Linked DNA regions of Homo sapiens: region 1 is linked to region 2. Evidence: promoter capture Hi-C in 16 types of primary human blood cells and fetal thymus (Javierre and others, 2016). All regions are on one chromosome and are shown on one strand. Each heading gives the region's core, a stretch centred on a gene start or on the middle of the fragment in contact. The rest is flanking DNA. Distances are from core to core; before and after follow the strand shown.

What was found. The method cuts DNA at HindIII sites, captures the fragments that hold promoters and counts their contacts. A CHiCAGO score of 5 or more calls a contact.
Region 1: the fragment with the promoter of FAM180A here is called in contact with the fragment with the promoter of AKR1B15 in region 2 in 4 of 17 cell types (naive CD8 T cells, total B cells, total CD8 T cells and 1 more); the score reaches 10.9 in naive CD8 T cells.

The regions. Positions count from the first base shown.
Region 1 is chr7:135,743,840-135,750,984 of GRCh38, forward strand. FAM180A (family with sequence similarity 180 member A) reads right to left here and starts at 4,974. Exons shown (of 4, transcript NM_205855.4): 1 at 4,666-4,974. The coding sequence starts at 4,741. RefSeq lists an enhancer at 1,412-2,611. The HindIII fragment of the contact is 5,471 bases long and covers 265-5,735 here.
Region 2 is chr7:134,544,797-134,551,476 of GRCh38, forward strand. AKR1B15 (aldo-keto reductase family 1 member B15) reads left to right here and starts at 4,314. Exons shown (of 12, transcript NM_001080538.3): 1 at 4,314-4,453. LOC105375520 (a long non-coding RNA gene) reads right to left here. Exons shown (of 3, transcript XR_928005.3): 3 at 2,561-6,680. RefSeq lists an enhancer at 4,325-4,384. The HindIII fragment of the contact is 2,317 bases long and covers 3,424-5,740 here.

The DNA of each region.
Region 1 (7,145 bases), core at 3,724-6,223, 1.2 Mb after region 2:
GAACACATTACCTGCCCTGGTCACTAAGCTCTATTCTTTTCAAATAGAGTGCCTACAAAATCCTTCCTTTTCTAATAGGGTGAATCTAGAGTTTATTTGTGGTTCTCGGTCTTGGCTAATGATCAGAAAGTAGATGTTGACTTCTGTCTCCACCACACCCTCCCCTTATCCCTGAGGAGTCCCTGTTTGGGCCTGGACGAAGCTAGTTTTTAATTGATCTCAGCGAGTGCTGTCCCCTACCTCCCCCACACCTTAGCCCTTCAAAGCTTTCTTGCCTAGACAAACAGCCAGAGGCACTCCAATGGAGTAGCCTGCCTTTGTTTGGCAGCCCGACCTTCTCTTTGACTTTCTGTAATCTGGGTTAAAAGTCTCTTTCTTCTTCTTTCCTCCCATCCCTCCGATATGTTCAGTAGTATGGTATTCAGGCTAATCATGCTTTCCCCAGAACTGTGCATAGCATTTGTGGCAAAGAGCTTGTTGGAAAGGATTCAAGCTGCAGACCATCTCAAGCCAAACTCCAACTGTATTTTTAATGAATCAGTTGAAGCAACTCGATGGAAAGGACGGTGGGTGTGGAAAGGAAAAGCTCTCGTTTGTAAAAGATCTTTTGCCAGATCTGACTGATGTCATTTACTTTTTGACTCCTGGGCCAGCCCTCTGGAAACAGAGTGCTATTCTGAGCGAGCCAGGGTCTCGGCCCTGTGCGTGGGGGTCCTCTGGGAGAGCTCCTGAAAGGGCTCTGGCAGCCAGCTCCTCTTGGCTGGAAAGCTCCACCATGTAGGGGGGAGCTTGGGGCTGCCGGGAGCAGGTGAGTGGCCCATGGGGGATGGAGAAATATGCAGAGCGGATGAATGAGGACGGGGCACTCTGCCAGCAGATGGACCTGGGGGATCAAATTCAACTCTGCCCTTGCAGCTGGGGGAGCTGGGTCACTTCACTTCTTGCCTCACTCTCCAATTTTCTAACCTGTAAATGGTTAGGATAGCACCTGCCTCACAGAGTTACTATGGAGAGAGGAGATGGCTCTGTATGGGGCACTTGGGCAGTGAATACTTAAAACAATTTTCTTTTTGGATACAGGGTCTTGCTCCATCATCCAGGCTGGAGTGAAGTGGCGCAATCATAGCTCTCTGCATCGTTGACCTCCTGGGCCTAAGTGATCCTACCACCTTGATCTCCTTGCCTTAAGTGATCCTACCACCTTAACCTTCTGAGTAGCTGGGACTACAGGCATGTGCTGCTACACCCAGCTAATTTTTTTTTTAACTTTCCCCTGAGTCACTGGAATTATAGGCGTGCACCACCGTGCCCGGCAGTCAGTGAGTACTTACTGAGTACTGACCACAGGCCTTTCCCTCATGGAACATTCATGACTGAGGACACACACAACCCTTAAATGGACACCTGAAAATGACATAAGGTCCACCAAAAAATGGAAGGGCTGCTCTATTAAACTACTTAAAAAATAACTTGTATGTATTCAACAAAAGCATAGCTATTCATATCCTTAATAGGTGCATATTTCATTCATATCCTTAATAGGTGCATAATTCTTTCTCAAGTCTGGCTAGTCCTCCCCCTTCCAGTGGTGCCCTGGCAGGACCTGGTATGTGCTGGGACGTGGGCCACCTGTGTGTGTGTGTGTGTGTTTCTGTGTGTGTGTATGTGTGTGTGTGTGTAGATGTGGCTTTCCTGGCTTGGCCACAGGTGAGTCATTTGGTCTTCATCAAACTGGTGGGGCTGGAATGGGTGATCCTGGATCCTGGCATGGAAAGCTGCCTCCCAGGGTGGAATCCTAGAGAGCGCTTAGGGAAAGGCTGGGAGGATGGTAGGAAAAAGACAGTGCTAACAACAAGGCGCATATTGCCTGTGGGTTTACATCTACATTTACATTTTGGAGCAGGAGGGTGGGAGGATGGACACGGGGTAGTGGTGGGGCTGGGGGCCAAAGGGCAGGGGGTGGAAGAGGAAAAGCTCTGGAAGAGATTGCCCTAAGACTGTTTCCAAAGGGAGTACTTTGAATTGAGGCTGGAGGTAGGGTGGGGGTAAGGATGAAGGTGAAATGAATAATACATTTGGAAAAACTTACTCATTTGGGTGTGACTCCTATTCAGTCTTGAAAAAAAAGATGGCAAGAATTGTGTATTTCTTTTATAATTAGAAAAAAATGTTAAAAATGAAAAAAAAATCAACTACGCGGAAGACATTTGATGATGGTTGGAGGGACTCTGTATCATTTGTTGACTCAGCGCTGACTTGAGCCATTAATCTAGCACGTCACATCCGCTGCCTCATAGTGACCTCGGTTTGGCTGGCTTTGAGTCAGTGGATTGTGAACTCACTGTGGAAAGACCTTCCCCAATGCGGAAGGACATGGCCCGGAGAAGTTGCTCCCAGAATGTTGCTGTAGATTCCCCTGTTAAGAGCCTTAAACTTCCTTTAATGAAAAATTTTTATTTTTCAAAAACTGGTAGGCAATAGCTAATATTTATATTGTGCTTTGTCATTTACAAAGTATTTTCATCTATATTTTTGAATATGACCCTCACAGTAATAGCATGAGGGTTTTATTGATGTGATGGATGTTAATGTCACCCGTTAGTGAACTAAAGCTCAGAGAGGTTAAGAGACTTGTCTGAGATCACATTGCCAAATAGAGATGGAACTTAAACCAGGACCCTTGCAGAGTAGCTCATGATGTGGCTATCGTGTTTACAAACCATATTGCAAGTCAAATAATCCCTTTTGGCTTTGTAATAGCCTGTGCCTTAGGAAGAGTGGGCACTGTTACCCTGTTTAATAAGCAAATCCCCAGTGTGACAAAGAGGGGAGTGACAGAACCCAACTCCAAGATCTCTTTGCTTTTTACTTCCAAGTGCTACCTCAAAGTTTGTGCACACAATGAAAAGGGAGGTGTGAAAACAGGGTGACTACAGTCAATAACAATTTAATTGTACATTTAAAAAGAACTAAAAGAGGGCCAGGCACTATGGCTCATGCCTATAATCCCAGAACTTTGGGAGGCTGAGGTGGGCAGATCACTTGAGGTCAGGAGTTTGAGAGCAGCCTGGCCAACATGGTGAAACCCCATCTCTACTAAAAATACAAAAATTAGCCAGGCGTGGTGGTGCGCACCTGTAACTCCAGCTACTCAGGAGACTGAGGCACGAGAATCGCTTGAACCTGGGAGGCGGAGGTTGCAGTGAACCAAGATTGCACCCCTGCATTCCAGCCTGGGCAACAGAGTGAGACTCCGTCTCAAAAATAAATAAATAAGTAAATAAATAACAAATAAAAGTAACTAAAAGGGTATCACTGGATTGTTTGTAACACAAAGGCTAAATGCTTGAGGGGATGGATACCCCATCTTCCATGATGTGACGTGCCTGTATCAAAACATCTCATAGGCCCCATAAATATGTATACCTACTATGTGCCCACAGAAATTAAAAATTAAAAATTAAAAAAAGAAAAGGGAGGGGTGTACGTGTGTATGTGCATGTGTATGCAAGGTTGTTATGAGAAAAATGAAGAATGCTGTATTATTTGTTTCTGGGCAACGATCACTTCACAGCTCAGCTCAAAAGACTTATATCCCTGTTAGAGATGTAAGTCCCTAATGTCACGTTTAACCATGAGGAAATAAAACCCAGCATAAGTACAGTAGCTTTTGCCTCCCTCCCATTTCAGATCCTTCTCTCGCGCTGCTCTATCCCCACTCCGGCCACTCCTTCCTTCCCTGACACTGTCCTTGAGAAGCAAGCAGGAGGCGCATCCATGCCACCATGCCAGTTGCCTTCCAATTTTGCATCTCTAGAAACACCTACTGGCCTGACTTGAAGGAGCCTGTTCTTCTTGCGGTTCTTTCTAGGAGAGTGAACTCAGTTGACTTTAGGCAGTGGAAAGATTTCCGTTCATATTGGTGAAGAGTGGGCAGTGCCGTGGGTCCCTCCTTTCCTAACAGTGATAAACTCTGGCTCGAGGTGCTCCCAGTGTCTACCAAGCAGAGCCACTCCCAGGGAAATGGAGAAAAGATGCCATCCAGCTAGGAGGAACTACATCCTGAGGGGGAGGAAGTCAGTGATAAGAGAACAGCCTTTGCTGGGGCCCCTTCCTTTGTGAGGAGGTGGCGGAGCTGGTGGGTGCAGTGGAGGTTGAAGGGTTGCTCTCCTCACCTGCCCACCTCTGGCTGCAGAGATGCATCCCCTCCCGGTGAGGAGGCAACGTTCTGCAGAGCTTCTGCTCTGGTTCCCCCAGGGAGCAGGCCTTTGGCATCCCAGTGCCCATCACTCCATCATTTTAGCAGCAGGTCTCAGCACCTGCTCTCCAGACGGTCTGGCCCAACTGCTGCAGGTGGTGGGGGCAGTCGAAGAAATGAGTTCTACTTTCTATGAAGCAGAAATGAGTTCTCTCTGGGATGCCAGAAAGGGGTACTCTCTGGGTTCTCCACCTCAACCTAATTCCCTCAGGAGCTTTGATTTTTTCCAGTGTCATTTCCCCATCACCCTCTAAGAAGGGGGAACACGTCAAGAAGCATCAAGGAATTGACAGAGATTAGACAAAAGGAGAGTGCGGGGCTTCTAATGTCCTTCCCTCCAAATTTTGAATTGCATTGAAGAAAGTATAATGAGCATCAAACAAACAAATGAATAAAAAGCAACTCACCCCTGCTCCACCTGTGGCACATAGAAGCCTCAGCATTGTAATACAACAGCAGAAGCAGCAACATCTTCCAATGCATCTTGTCCTTCAAAAGGTGAAAAATCGACCCTCAAGCCCAGTGGAACCCCAGTAGCTGCAGGTATGCCCGTGCCGTTCTTCCCAGTGAGATGATGGAGTGCTTCCCTCCCTTCCTTTTGCAGACGTGCAGAAATGCCTACTCTGCCTCAGAAGGCTGGAGGCTGAAGGCTGCGTCCTGGGTGGGACAGGAGTCGGTACCTCTCTTCATTTGACGCTCTCTGGGATTGGGGAACTGGCCTTCCACAGAGAGACTCTGTTTTTGAGCACATCTGGAGTGACTCACGGGGCATGTGATCTCCTTGGCAGTGGGGCGGATAAATATAATTTCTGTACTTGAGTTCCATGTGTTGGATGCACCCACTGGAATTTTTCTTTAACAAACAGACCCGCGGAACTTGTTAGAGAGCCCGGCGAAGAGTTGGCTGCTCTCCCCGTCCACACATACGATACCAGAGCCAGGGGCGAGGGCTGGAGGCAGAGTTGGGAGCCTGCCTGGCAGACACCAGGGCTGGTTGAGCCTAAGTTGCCTTCAGGACAGCAAAATCATTGTGGTGCCTGGGCTGAGTGTCACTGTTGCCTGGCCCTGGAGCTAGACTAGGACATTGGCGCCTAGAGCCTGTGTCTGGTCTGCCCAGGTTCTGGGTGGGTGGGGAGTTGGCAGGTTGTGACCGAGCCGAAGTGGAGAGGTGACATGGTGCATCGGTATTGTCTGTGTGAACGTGCGTAGGTAATGATCCAGGAGCCCACGGGGACCCCCAACTCACATTGGTGATGCTCCCATTTCTGGGCTGTGCCTAGACCTGGGGCCAAGCCCCACAACTCACATTGGTGATGCTCCCATTTCTGGGCTGTGCCTAGACCTGGGGCCAAGCCACTTTGATTTTCCCAAGCAAAATGGGAGTGTTTTTCCATAGTCGTTGTAATATACTGCCATAGACACCTTAATTCTTTCCCAATCACTTCCTCAACTTCTCTGAAATGATAGGGAATGCTAAAGCTTGAAGGACACTTAAAGATTATGTCATCCTGTGGGTTTTCCAGTTTGTGGAGGTGGTGCCCAGGGTGAATGGGCTCCCCAAGAGGGCTCCTCAAAGCTCTACTCTACTGCAAAAGCTCCTCTTTTATCTGCTATAAGAAGTTGTTTGGGAGCCGGGCATGGTGGTTCACGCCTGTAATCCCAACACTTTGGGAGGCCGAAGTGGGGGAATTGCTTGAGGCCAGAAGTTCAAGACCAACCTAGAGAAAATAGACCCTGTCTCTACAAAAAATTAAAAAATTAGCTGGGCGTGGTGGCATGTGCCTGTAGTCCTAGTCACTCAGGTGGCTGAGGCAGAAGGATTGTTTAGGCCCAGGAGTTCAAGGCTGCAGTGAGCTATGATCACAACACTCTACTCCAGCCTGGGTGACAGAGTAAGAACTTTCCTCTTAAAAAAATTAAAAAAAAAACAACCAGTTTTTTTGGGGGAAAAAATACTAGACTACAACATTTGAAAACCAGTACGCTCACTAATATTAATAATAGCTATTAGGTGCTTAATTTGCTTCAGACAGCGTGCTAGGTGCCCTCCTTGCATTAACTGATTTAATGCATCCACCGAACTAGGAGGTTAGGGCACTAGCCAGCAGCACTCTCCAACAGAAATGTAACGTGAATCACAAACGTCACTTAACATTTTCTACAACTCATACTAAAAAAAAGTAAAAAGAGGCTGGGTGCAGTGGCTCACGCCTGTAATCCTAGCACTTTGGGAGGCCGAGGCAGGCGGATCACCTGAGGTCAGGAGTTCGTGACCAGCCTGGCCAACATGGCAAAACCTCGTCTCTCCTAAAAATACAAAAATTAGCCGGGCATGGTGGTGCACACCTGTAATCCCAGCTACTCGAGAGGCTGAGGCAGGAGAGTCTCTTGAGCCTGCGAGGTGAAGGTTGTGGTGAGGCGAGATGGTGCCACTGCACTCTAGCCTGGGCAACACGAGTGAAACTCCATCTCAAAAAAATAAAAAATAGAAAAAGTAAAAAGAAACAAGTGCAATGAATAGTAATAATATCTTTCATTTAATTCAATATATCCAAGATATTATCATTTCTACAAGTAAGTGATATAGTATTAGCAAGATATTTTATATATATATATATAATATTTACATGAGGTCTTTGAAATCTAATGTGTATTTCACACTTATAGCACTTCTCAAGTCACACCAGCCCTGTTTCAAGTACCTGATAGCTCCATGCAGCCAGTGGCTCCTGTATCGGGCAGTGCAGAGCTAGAAGGTGAGAGGGCAGGCTCTGGGGCAAGATGCCTGTCTTTGTATCCCAGCTGTGCCACTGACTAGCTGTGTGATATTGGTGGAGTTCCCTCATCTCTCTTGGGCTTGATTTTCTTCATCTATAGAATGGGGACA
Region 2 (6,680 bases), core at 3,064-5,563:
GGTGACAGAGTGAGACTCCATCTCAAAACAAAAACAAGCAAAGAAACACACAAAAATAAGAGATAAACAAACTTGGACAAAACCATTTGGCAATTTTCTTATAATCAAAAGAGTTTATTCATATAAATAAGAAAAATCTCAGATGCCACAAAGAAAGTTTTTACATAAAATTGACCATTAAATGACATGAAAAATTGTACAGACTAGTAATAAAAATGCAAATTAAAATAAGCTTTATACACTATCAAACCAGCAAAACTTAGAAATAAAAGAAAATCTATCTAGAAAGATTTGAATATTAAGAGGGTTTTTTTCTATGTTGTTTGGCAACAAGTTTATTTTTGTTATTCTTTTACATAATTTTCAAAATTTCCACAATAGGAAATGAACTTTTACATTCTAGAGAGGCATTAAGGATTTAAAAAATAACAGATTTAGCTCAATTAGTTATTTTATACATCCACTGGGAAAACCAAATGAAAGAGACACTTTTACTTGAAATTATTCTCATTTAACAAGCCTTTCGATTTTAGAAAATACGTATTCTGAATGTACAATGCAGTGGAATTTGATTACATTTAATTTTAAATTCTACCTAATTCATTTGTTTTTCCTCATTTGTTGTCAGCATTTTCCCAGACATTTCATGAAAGTTTTGCACCCTTAAAATCTTACAGTGTTGCCTTCCAGCACTTTTGTTGGTTCAAAAATATCAGCCCCCAGATAAGTTAGGGAGAGTTGGTGAGGACCAAGAGGACCTTGACCGTTACTAAAAAATTACGCAAGAGAGGTACTTGTGCCTCAGGGCTCTTGCCCTTGGTATTCTCACTGCCTGGGATGCTCTGCCCTCAGATATTAGAATAATTCTCTGACTTGTATTTTTAATTTCCTTGCCGATTTATCGTCTTTTCAGAGAGGACTTTCTTCATCACCCTATTTAAAATTAACCTACCTCCTCTGATATTTCTTCTTGCCCTTCTAAGTGTTTTCTTCTTCTCCATAGCATTTGTTTATCAATATGTCATGTATTTTATATATTTGCTGTTTGCTTGCTTACCCTGTTTCTACCCACTAGCATGTAAGCTCTATGAGAGAAGGGATTTTTGAGTTCTGTTAATTATTGTATTCCCCGCCTCAATAATATCTGGTGAATAAATAGATAGATGGAATGGATGGAACAATGGATGGACGAATGGATGGGTGGAGGGACGGAGGCATGGATGGATGGTTGGAAACATGGAAAGAAGGAAGGATGGATAGAAAGACAAATGGAAGGAGGGATGGGTGGAAGGATACATGGATTGGGGATGGATGAATGATGGATGGATGGATGGATGGATGGATGGATGAATGATGGATGGATGGATGGATGGATGGATGTGTGGGATATGATGAGGTTTCTCTTCAGATAACCTGATCAATCTTTTATTCTTTAATTCATAGTAATCCCTCCACCTTTTTTCCTTTTTCTCCTTTTTTCTCTTTTTTCCTTTGTTACATGCCCAGGCATGCCACAGTACCAGGTGGTATCTGTACCTGCTCACATTCCTTTCCTTATTTGGAAAGAGGACTAACTTTTTAGCTCATTACAGACACCCCTTCCCCTTTATTCTCTGCCTTTTTTACGTGCCCACCTTATCTAAAAAAAATCCAATGTTTAGCCAACCAGGATTAGTTTAGATTGTACGACCTGACCCTGGCCAATGGAGAAAGGGTACAGGGGCAGTACTTGTGTCAGGAGTAAAGGCTCTCGTGCCCCTTTTTCAGGTGTGCTCTCATGGCGACTGGACAAGGAGGCACCTCTCTGCGCAGAAGTAAAATTGCTTTGCTAAGAATCCTTTGTTCAAGTGTTCAATTTCCTTAAGATTTTGAGCGTTATTCCTAACAGTTCTGGAGCCCAACTTTGGGGCTCGAATCTTCTCCTTTGGGAAGGGGGCCTTCGGTCACCCCACCCGGAGGGGACGCATCCTACTGTCTAGTTACCGTGCCCCTAGGTTGAGGGAGATCAGGGCCCCCCCCCCGCTTTGTGACAAATAAGTCTGGATCTCAGCAAAGCGGGGAGGAGAAGCTTGCAAGACCGCAACAATAAGAGGACCAGGAAATTCTTGTGCATGGAATAAGGTAGGAGACTTGGCGAAGGTGACAAAGTATTTCCCAGGTGGTTGGGATAAGCTGGAGGCTGACAGTGTATGAATGGGACTTAGTATGGTGGTTATGTGGAGTGAGTGAGTCTTCTCTATGGCCTCATGCTGCCATCTGTCAACTAGAGTCAGGAACAGACAGAGTAGACAAAGAGGAAGGGGGAGGGTAGAAATCCAAACAGGTTGGGTTGGAGCCTTTCCCCAAAGCCTCAGTAAGCCTCCAGGAAGGGGGAGGGTAGAAATCTCACAGGAGGGGTTGGGCCTCCTCCCCATAATCCCTAAGATGGGGAACGTTTCAAGTAAGACAGGAAAACTAAAGAGTCTAGAGAGTGATGAATTTCCTTCTGATAGCCCCTTGGGGCTTATGCTAAAGTATTGAAAAAATAATAAGAGAACCAAGTATAAACAAAAACAGCAGATGATAGAATATTGTTGTTTTATTTAAGTTCGAGAACCCATCCTTAAGCCCTCACTTTTCTGGCCAAAATTTAAGTCTAATGAAGAGCGAATTTGTCAGCTGTTAATCAAATATGTTAACAGTAAGAGCCCTGTGTCCCAGGAAAAATCGATTACGCCCTCTGCTGGCGGCAGGGACCAGTTCTCCTTTACCCTTTAGACTCTGGAGGGAGAAAATCAGAAACCAACCTTTCTAAAAAGGAAAGAGTTCCCATGCCTAGACAACCCATACCTACCAAGACATGGGATCCTCTAAATCACCTTCCTTCCTTCAGCGCCCCCAATCCTGCCCCTTTGGTTCCCCTCTCAGGTCCCTCCGGCTGTGGTTTCAGGTTACTCCCCAGCTGTTTCAGGCCACGCCCCAGCCTGTGCTGTCCCTTCAGCTGAGGTTTCAAGTTACTCCCCAGCCGCTTCAGGCCACAACCCACCAAGTTAAAACTATATTAAATCAAAACGCAAGGAGGGAGATTACCAACTCAAAAATTTTAAAATATGAGGCTATCTTTCTGGGAAAAAGGTGATTTAATATTAAGTACTAATAATTCACTTTATTCAGCAGGCTCTTTAACGGGGGATCCAAACGTAAAACGAGAGAGCACGCGTGTTTAAATCGAATTAATTACCATACGAAAGTTCAACCAGACTTAGGAAAAACTCCCTTCAAGACAGGGTGGCACTTATTCATAGATGGAACCTCCCAGGTGATTAAAAGAAAGAGACATAATAGGTATTCAGTGATTAATGGAAAGACTGTTAAAAAAGTAAAATCAGGAAGGGGGTCTAATAATTGGTCTGTCCAAGGGTGTGAACTGTTTGCACTCAGCCAAGCTTTAGGACATTTACAAAACCAAGAAAATCTATCTATACTGACTCTAAGTATCCCTCTGGGGAGGCACACACATTTGGGAAAATTTGGATGGAGAGGGCTCTTATCAATAGTAGAGGCCAAGATTTAGTTCATAGAGAACTGATGCTCGTGTCCTCAACAATCTCCAATTGCCAGAAGAGATAGCTATTGTACATGTCCCAGGGCACCAAAACGACTCGCCTTTCACAAGTCCAGGAAATAATCTTGCAGATCAAATTGTGATACCCTATCTTGTTTTATCCTGATTGACTCTTTCTTAGCTGAGAGAGTCAATAGCTTGGGAGACTCAATTGAGAGTCAATATCGAGAGAGTCAATAGCTGAGAGAGTCTTAGCTTGGTTTCTTCGCTTGCAGCCCCTTGTCCCCCTCCTTAAGGACATAACTGGTGCAAGCTGACTCCAAGCACATCCAAGAATGCGCTTATTGATAAGATACTGAGGCAAGCTGTACCAGCAGCTCCTGGGAGCACACTTGGTTGGTGGTATCCAAAGCCCCTGCTTTTATCACTTTGGGATACTTTAAGCCCCTGCACCTGGAACTGTTTATTTTCCTGTAACTGTTTCTGTAACCATTTATCTTTTAATTTTTTCCTGTTCTGCTTCTGTAAAAAATTGCTTCAGCTAGACTCCCCCTCCCCTCTTTAGGCCAAGGTATAAAAAGAACTCTAGCCTCTTCTTCCGGACCGAGAGAATTTCAAGCTCTAGCTCTTTCTCAGTCGCCAGCAATAAAGGACTCCTGAATTAGTCTCAGAGTGTGGCATTCTCTCTATGACTTGCTCGGTTACGACATTTGGAAGCCCCAGAGAGATTCGCCACCGGGTGAAGACCTGACTCATTCCGGGCTTCCCCAGACAGACAGCTGGCTTACAGGGCCACCTGAAGACGTTCCAGGGCTCCACAGGCCACTGTCTTCTGGAGGGGAACGGATCGACTGCCGGTGCGCCCAGCCAAATTCAACTCCTGAGTCCTCAGTCTCTAGTCCCGGGAAGGTAAGTCAGATCTGACTCTGTCTCTCTGGGAGGGAAACGGCCCTGACGAAGGTCCTCCCTCAGACTCTGTCCATGCTCCAGGACACTGGAGGACAGAGTCCTGGTTTCTGTCAGGATTCTCTGTTAAGTCTAGTCTCTCTCTCTCTCTATCTCTTCTCCCTCTCTCATTCAGGTCTCCGGGAGATCTCTGTTTTAGAATGGGTATAAAAATTGTAATAAACTCTGAGTGAGTGAGTGAGTGAGTGAATGTGGAGTTCAAGGGCTTGCGCTTGAATTTCCAGTTTGTAGCTCCAGGGTGAAAGCTAGGGAATTCGAGAAGGCCCTCACCTGTGGTTCCGTGGTGACCTCATAAGGCTTAGGGCGGCATCAGGCATAGCTCGATCCAAGCCAGGGGTTTATACCAGCCTGCCAATGCCAAGAGGAGCCTAAGTCCCCGAAAGGGGAGCAGCCAGGAGGGCATCTGACTGATCCCATCACGGGACCCCCTCCCCTTGTCTGTCTATAAAAATTGCCATGCTTGTTTATATACCCCAGTGCCTATTGTCCTGTTTAGTGTCTGTCTAAATTTCATATGTCGGATCGTCGATACTGCCCAAAATGACTGGGCAAGGACTTCTTCAAGGTCCTTAGTACAGATTTTCTATCCCAGGAGGTCAAATTCCTCATTAGTCGGTTGGGCTGGCCATCCCAGTCCTGCCTTTCCTGTCAGAAACAAATTAGGTGTTGTTATGGGGAAGGGTGTGGAAGACATTCACCCGTTTAGGATTTCTGGCACCATAAAGATTGCTGGCGTTTGGATTGCCATACCCCACGCCCCAACGACTGGTCCACCTTCTCCTTAGACCAGTGGTGGATCCAAAATAGCCACCCTGCTGACCTCCTTACTCACCTTTTCTGTCATCCCATAACTTTTCCCATGCCCTTAAATAAGGCACTGTGCAGAGAAACCTACACCCATACTGCTCTACTCTGTCTGGACTCTTATTTTACCTCTTTTGGCTACTCTCCAACCTTTAGGGAAATCCAAGTGGCCCCTTTCCTCCTCATCCCCATCCCTTACCCTGCACATCTCATTTTCCTGTGTTGCAGCAAGTCCAGCGTCTCTAAGACTTGGCTGTGTTCTCCCTCCTTAAACCCGTGAAGGAAAGGACCGAGTTTGAACATTTTGCTTTCGAGTCGTGGAGACACCAAAGTTATTTGGGATATAAGTCAAGAAGGGGGGGTCACCTAAGTCCCACTGGCTGAGGATCCCTTGGACCCACCTCTTATCCTCTCCATAGATCTCGAAGCTTGAGGAGACAGACCTTATGTGGCAAGAAATATTGGCTATAGTTGTTTTCCTACTTCTTCTAGCTATAATACTTCTGTTCTTCTGATACCATAGCCTCCCAGGCCGTGAATATCTTTGTCCATGCTGGGTTTAATATTTTTGTTCAAACCTTGTTAATTGCCTCCAGAATAGTAAACTCTTCTTCCCGGCCCCATAAAGATTGGAGTCCTCTCCAGTGTATGTTGCAGAATTTCTCTCTAGGCTTCTCAGATGATTACGGGGTCCGCCTTAAAAAAGGCAAACTCTGGACACTCTGCGAAGTAGAATGGCCAAAGTTTGGAACTGGGTGGCCCCCAGACGGGTCACTACACTTCACAGCTGTTCAGGCTGTGTGGTGGGTCGTTGTTGGAACTCCCGGTCACCCCGATCAGTTTCCCTACATTGATCAATGGCTAGATTTAGTCCAGAGCTCTCCTTCATGGCTCCACTCGTGATAAAACTCTGTAGCCATTCGTGATCCTACCTCCAAGGTCCTTTTTAGCCAGACCTCACTTTTGCCTCCACCCTCAGCTCCCTCGATTCCTCCTGTACTGCCTCCTTCTGAAGAAGAGGAAAGTTTTCTTCACCCATTTCCACCACCCTATAACCCTCCTCCTCCCCCAGAATCTTCCCTTGTCTCCTCAACTACATCCTCTGTGGCCTCTCTGCCTATATCCTCCCAATTATGGCCTCAGCCGGAGGAGGTGGCCCCGCTCCTCCCACTGACAGAGGCCCAAATCCCTTTGGGCAGTGGGCGTTGTGCTCCATTTTTAGTTTATGTCCCCTTCTCTACTTCTGACCTGTACAACTGGAAGGCTCATAATCCCCCCTTTTCTGAAAAGCCCCAGGTCTTAACCTCACTGATGGAGTCTGTGCTCCAGACTCACCGGCCCACCTGGGATGAGTGTCAGCAACTCC